2 separate regions of the Homo sapiens genome follow, and region 1 is linked to region 2. The links are contacts of gene promoters, found by promoter capture Hi-C in human tissues and cell types (Jung and others, 2019). All regions are on one chromosome and are shown on one strand. The core of a region is centred on a gene start or on the middle of the fragment in contact, and the rest is flanking DNA. Distances in the headings are between cores, read along the strand shown.

The links. Contacts are between HindIII fragments. The study calls those that stand out against the background at their distance.
Region 1: a fragment that was not itself captured here is called in contact with the fragment with the promoter of TRIM28 in region 2 in 1 of the 25 tissues and cell types used here (lymphoblastoid cells).

The regions. Positions count from the first base shown.
Region 1 is chr19:57,382,881-57,386,387 of GRCh38, forward strand. No RefSeq gene overlaps it. Among named protein-coding and RNA genes, the nearest start is that of ZNF548, 5.2 kb to the right of the region's middle. The HindIII fragment of the contact is 6,124 bases long and covers 1-3,507 here.
Region 2 is chr19:58,542,305-58,545,715 of GRCh38, forward strand. It overlaps TRIM28 (tripartite motif containing 28), which reads left to right and starts at 1,760. Exons shown (of 17, transcript NM_005762.3): 1 at 1,760-2,793; 2 at 3,121-3,233. The coding sequence starts at 2,454. It also overlaps the pseudogene RN7SL525P. RefSeq lists enhancers at 935-1,439, 1,591-1,900 and silencers at 2,021-2,230, 2,311-2,470, 2,491-2,780. The HindIII fragment of the contact is 31,195 bases long and covers 1-3,411 here.

The DNA of each region.
Region 1 (3,507 bases), core at 849-3,348, 1.2 Mb before region 2:
TTTTTTAAATATAAGCTTCTTCACAAAAAACACATAGTAAACATCATGGCACTGGGCTGCACAATACTTTGATAGAGCACGTTGATGTAAAGACATTTTTGTAAGTGTTTAGAGCATGCCTTTTATATCTAAACATGCAAAGAAATGAGTAGCCTCCTGTCGTAATAACCATTTACTGTAAACAACTGCCACCAGCTGCTTCTGACACTGCAGCTCTTGCTTGTGACAGCCATTACGCACAAAAACGTCAAGTTCTTTCACAGGACAAAGTAATCTCTGGTACCCCCCAAAACCAATGATATCAGGTAATGCACTACAAAAGAAGGCAGAATTTTAGACCTGAGATAAATCTGTCCTCTTAAAACTCTTGAGTGAGAGAGAGAGAGAGAGAGAGAGAGAGAGGGAGAGAGATTTCCTCATCTGGTTAGTGTAGATAGCAGGTTGGCTTCCTGAGCTGGTCAGTGCAGTAGTGGGTTAGAGTTCTGTTTTATATTTGGCTTGGCCATTGTTGATTTCTATAGTCAATTTCTTACATGTAAACAAGGAAGATAGCTATAATATTGAGATTTCTTGTTTTCTTAACTGGTCTTAGGTTGAAAATTGATTTTTCATTCTCCTCCCCGCTCCCCCCTCCCCCCACCATCCCATTCTTCTGCCTCTGCCGGATCTTCAGCTGGGTAGCATTTTGGTTTTGTTTGTTTTTTAACCTGGAGGATGTCCCCAAATATCAAAACCTAAACTTCTGATTCTTAGAAGTCCTCCCTTCGATGAGTTGCTAGTTTTATTTCTGAACATGAACTTACCAAAACATCCCCCAGAAATCCCCTGGTCTCAGACATAACTCTCTATGCTTCCCATTCCATGGCAGCAACTCAGCCTAACTCATCCAAAGCAAAAAAGCAATCCCTTCTTGCTTAAGTGACACAAGGATCCCCAGATGAACAAGTAGCTGTATCACCCTTCAATTAAATGTAATAATATTTACTTCTGGTGGAACCTCTCCTTCCTTGGAACAAAGGGCCCCCAACCAGCAGAATTTACAATTAAGAAGAAGTGGCCAGACACAGTGGCTCAAGCCTGTAATCCCAGCACTTTGGGAGGCCGAGGCAGGCAGATCATAAGGTCAGGAGTTCGAGACCAGCCTGGCCAACATGGTGAAACCCTATCTCTACTAAAGATACAAAAAATTAGCTGTGCGTGGTGGTGCGTGCCTGTAATCACAGCTACTCGGGAGGCTGAGGCAGGAGAATTGCTTTAACCCGGGAAGAGGGGGTTGCAGTGGGCTGAGATCATGCCATTGCACTCCAGCCTGGGCGACAGGGCAAAAAAAAAAATTAGCCGGGCATGGTGGCGGGCGCCTATAATCTCAGCTATTCAGGAGGCTGAGGCAGAAGAATCGCTTGAAGCCGGGAGGCAGAGGTTGCAGTGAGCTGAGATCGCGCCAATGCACTCCAGCCTGGGTGACAGAGCAAGATTCTGTCTCAAAAAAAAAAAAAGAAAAAAAGAAAAAAGAAGAAGGGTAGCAGAAATTCTGTGAATGAGTTACTAGGTTCAAAAATGAGGATGCTCAATATAATGCATAGGTTCAGAAAAAAATTACGATGAAAAGAATTGTCAAATTTTGTAACTGATACTTGACCTGGTTAAATTTGAATTATTTCTAATTCCCTATGTATATGTGCAGTGAGATAAAAGATAAATATTGTATGTGACATACTCATCATAAAATTATTTGTTGTTTATCTGAAATACATTCTAAATCAGGGGTCCCCAACCCCTGGGGCCACAGATGAGTACTATGGCCTGTTAGGAATGGGGCCATATAGCAGAGGGTGAGTGGCAGATGAGTGAGCATTGCTGCCTGATCTCCGCCTCCTGTCAGATCGGCAGCAGCATTAGATTCTCATAGGGGTGCAAACCCTACTGTGAACTGCACAAGAGAGGGATCTAGGTTGTATGCTCCTTATGAGAATCTAATGCCTCTGAAACCATCTGCCCCCAAACCCCTCTCCCTTATCCATGGAAAAATTGTCTTCCACAAAACCGGTCCCTGGTACTAAAAAGCTTGGGGATCACAGTTCTAATGACATAACTCTTTCCCTGATAATTTGCTTCTACTTAACAATTCCTTGTTTTATATAATTTGCTTACAGAATTCCTGCAGTTACAGTCTTGATGCCATTTATGTTGTGACAAACCTTCGTCATTTGTCATATTCAACTTATTTCATTCCTTTATCTATTGGACATTCATTAATGAGAAACACACTCAACAGTAGCATTCTGAGCCTAAAGACTCATGATGATAAACAGTGTAGAAAACATTACAAACTCTATTATAATTATTCTACCATCTCCATCTGATTTTAACAAAAAAGTTATTTTGTCTCTTTCTTTGGAACTAGTTGAGAAAATCATGCACCTTCCAAAGTTAATATATATTTGACTGTCCACCATTTTCATTAGTCAATGGGCAATTACATAGAGTCGAAGACCTTCAAAGGGAATTTTAAATACTCCTCAGTTCATCATAAATTATAAACTTGCATTTTGACATTTTTTGCATTCAATATACTCAAAATATAGACAATAGCAACTTCTACAAGAGTTGAAAAACATTGTGGGTACAGTGGCTCATGCCTGTAATCGCAGCACTTTGGGAGGCCTAGGCGGACAGATCACTTGAGGTCAGGAGTTCGAGACCAGTATGGCCAACATGGCGAAACCCCATCTCTAATAGAAATACAAAAAATTAGCCAGGCATGGTGCCACGCGCCTGTAATCCCAGCTACTTGGGAGGCTGAGGCATGAGAATCACTTGAACCTGGGAGCCAGAGGTTGCAGTGAGCCGAGATTGCGCCACTGCACTCCAGCTGGGTGACAGAGTGAAACTGTATCTTAAAAAAAAAAAAGAAAAGAAAGAAAAAAGAAAACACTGGAGAAAACGTTGGATTTTACAATGTATGTCTGGGTCAGTTAGTCTACCATTTCATATCCAAACTCATAACTAATTACAAACAGATGGAACCATTGAAAGCTTGCAAACTTTTAAATTATATTCATATAATTAAAATATAAGTAATAATTTATATTCAATTAAGAATAAATGGGGCCAGGCGTGGTGGCTCATGCCTGTAATCCCAGCACTTTGGGAGGCCGAGGCAGGCGGATCATGAGGTCAAGAGATCGAGACCATCCTGGCCAACATGGTGAAATCCCGTCTCTACTAAAAATACAAAAAAATTAACTGGGCGTGGTGGCGTGCATATGTAGTTCCAGCTACTTGAGAGTCTGAGGCAGGAGAATCACTTGAACCGGAGAGGCGGAGGTTGCAGTGAGCCGAGATCACACCACTGCACTCCAGCCCAGCGACAGAGTGAGACTCCGTCTCAAAAAAAAAAAAAAGAATAAATAGATTTTGATATCTCAAGGGAAAAAAAGTGATATTCCTATTTGTCTGCAGGGCAGAGCTGTAGTGGTCAGGCAGTCTCCTCAAACAAAGCCAAAA
Region 2 (3,411 bases), core at 510-3,009:
TTCCCCCCACACACCCTGCTTCCCTCCTCAGACAGGATTCTCCCCACATACACCCTGCTTCCCTCCTCAGACAGGATTCTCCCCACACACACCCTGCTTCCCTCCTCAGACAGGATTCTCCCCACACAGACCCTGCTTCCCTCCTCAGACAGGGCTCCCCTCCCCACACAGACCCTCTTTCCCTCAGACAGGATTTTCCCCACACACACCCTACTTTCCTCCTCAGACAGGATTCTCCCCACACAGACCCTGCTTCCCTCAGACAGGATTCTCCCCACTCAGACCCTGCTTCCCTCCTCAGGCAGGATTCTCCCCACACAGAACCTGCTTCCCTCCTCAGACAGGATTCTCCCCACACACACCCTGCTTCCCTCCTCAGACAGGATTCTCCCCACACACACCCTGCTTCCCTCCTCAGACAGGATTCTCCCCACACAGACGCTGCTTCCCTCCTCAGACAGGATTCTCCCCACACAGACCCTGCTTCCCTCCTCAGACAGGGTTCCCCTCCGCACACACACCCTCTTTCCCTCAGACAGGATTTTCCCCACACAAACCCTACTTTCCACCTCAGACAGGATTCTCCCCACATGGACCTGCTTCCTTCCCTCCTTGGGATTCCCCACTGTTGAGGTTCAGTTTCCCCATCTGGAAAAGCATCAAAGTCAGGGTAGCTGCTGACGAAAACATGGGGAGGGGATGCCTTGGGGGGCTGGGTGGGATTTCACAGACTCATTGCTCTTTAGCCTCTTGTGATTTATATATATGTGTATATATATATATATATTTTTTTTCTTGATGGGGGGTTGGGGGGCCCGGCGTGGTGGCTCACACCTGTAATTCCAGCACTTTGGGAGGCCAAAGTGGGTCTATCATCTGACGTCGGGAGTTCGAGACCAGCCTGGCCAACGTGGTGAAACCCCGTCTCTATTAAAAATACAAAAATTAGCCAGGCGTGATGGCAGGCCCCTGTAATCCCAGCTACTCGGGAGGCTGAGGCAGAAGAATCGCTTGAACCCGGGAGGCGGAGGTTGCAGCGAGCCGAGATCGTGCCACTGCACTCCAGCCTGGGCAACAGAGCAAAACTCCGTCTCAAAACAAACACAAAAACCTTTCTCTCCTCTTTTGAGATGGAGTTTCACTCTTTTCTCCCAGGCTGTAGTGCAATGGCACGATCTCGGCTCACTGCAACCTCCGCCTCCCGGGTTCAAGCGATTCTCCTGCCTCAGCCTCCCGAGTAGCTGGGATTACAGGCGCCTGCCACCACGCCCGGCTACTTTTTGTACTTTTAGTAGAGACGGGGTTTCACCACGTTGGCCAGGCTGCTCTCGAACTCCTGACTTAAGATCCAACCGCCTCGACCTCCCAAAGTGCTGGAATTACAGGCGTGAGCCGCCGCGCCCGGCCACATTTTTCTCCATCTGTGGTCTAGGCTGGCGTGCAGTGGCACAATCCCGCCTCACTGCTGCCTCGGCCTCCTGGGCTAAACGGAGCTTCCCGACTCGCCTAAGAAAGTGGTGGGATTACAGGTATGAGCCACGGCGCCCGGCTGTGATCTACATTTGATTCAGTCAAGTTTCTGTGTTTCTCAAGTTTAACTATAGCGTGGTTAAAATCCAAAAGTCAGCACCCGAGCTCACACAGGAGCTTCCTCCCTCTTGGGATGGAGACTCTCCTCCCCTCTCCCTGGACACAGCCCTTCACTCGGTCTTGGCCCCGCCTACTTCTCCATCGGCCCTGCCCCCTATCCCGAACTCTTAGTGACGCAGAGGCTGGAGACGACTCTACGGCGGCGAAGAGACGCGGGTTGAGGAAGAGGGACGGATTGCCCATGCGCTTGGGCGCACAGCGGCCCGCTTCTGTGTGGTCTGGAGGTGGAGCTGAGAGGGGAATCACACTCTATAAAGGTTCGCATACCCCACTGGCGGATTCAATTGCGGCAGTGACGTCACAGAGGCCCCGCCCCGCCCCCACAAGAGCCCCACCGACGTGGGGTTGGCGGTGGTGGAAGGACTAGGAGTTGGCGCGTGCGTACTGGCGGCCTCTCCCGCACCGACCGGCCTGGGCCCCGCCCCCGGGCGTGAGGCGCCCAATGCGCGTGCGCGGCGGCGTCGGCGCCAGTTATTTCTGTCCCGCCCCCCGGCCTCGGCTCTTTCTGCGAGCGGGCGCGCGGGCGAGCGGTTGTGCTTGTGCTTGTGGCGCGTGGTGCGGGTTTCGGCGGCGGCTGAGGAAGAAGCGCGGGCGGCGCCTTCGGGAGGCGAGCAGGCAGCAGTTGGCCGTGCCGTAGCAGCGTCCCGCGCGCGGCGGGCAGCGGCCCAGGAGGCGCGTGGCGGCGCTCGGCCTCGCGGCGGCGGCGGCGGCAGCGGCCCAGCAGTTGGCGGCGAGCGCGTCTGCGCCTGCGCGGCGGGCCCCGCGCCCCTCCTCCCCCCCTGGGCGCCCCCGGCGGCGTGTGAATGGCGGCCTCCGCGGCGGCAGCCTCGGCAGCAGCGGCCTCGGCCGCCTCTGGCAGCCCGGGCCCGGGCGAGGGCTCCGCTGGCGGCGAAAAGCGCTCCACCGCCCCTTCGGCCGCAGCCTCGGCCTCTGCCTCAGCCGCGGCGTCGTCGCCCGCGGGGGGCGGCGCCGAGGCGCTGGAGCTGCTGGAGCACTGCGGCGTGTGCAGAGAGCGCCTGCGACCCGAGAGGGAGCCCCGCCTGCTGCCCTGTTTGCACTCGGCCTGTAGTGCCTGCTTAGGGCCCGCGGCCCCCGCCGCCGCCAACAGCTCGGGGGACGGCGGGGCGGCGGGCGACGGCACCGGTAAGTACGAAGTGATCGGTGCCACCCCTCCCCCTACTCTCTGCCTTTGATTCCGACTGGGTGCAGAGATGAGGATGCCACCTGGGCGAGAGGATGGGGGCCCGGACAGGGCACGGGAAATACTTTCTGGGTCCTGCATACGAACGTGGGTTTGTGCTGGCCGCTGAGATGGGACATCTGACTAAAGTTGGAGAAAAGAAGGCTCGGGGAGGGGAGGGGCTGGTTCGCTGCGGGATAATGGTCGGGGGCCCACCCAGCAGGGGAATGGTGGGGGCCATAACCTGGGTGGGAACTTGTAACAGTCTCCCACATCCCTGCTTCTCGAAGTGGTGGACTGTCCCGTGTGCAAGCAACAGTGCTTCTCCAAAGACATCGTGGAGAATTATTTCATGCGTGATAGTGGCAGCAAGGCTGCCACCGACGCCCAGGATGCGAACCAGGTGCGTCCTATCTCAGCAACCACAAGGAGGTTTCTGGGGAGGGGGCATCTGCGCAGGAGGAGCTTGGCACCAGCTCCAGGCTGTTACTCCACTTTCCCAAGGCTCTGGGTGGGCTGCCTAGGTTGGGTCAAGGGACCAATCTTAAATCTCCGGTTGTATTTTCTGGGATGTAAACGTG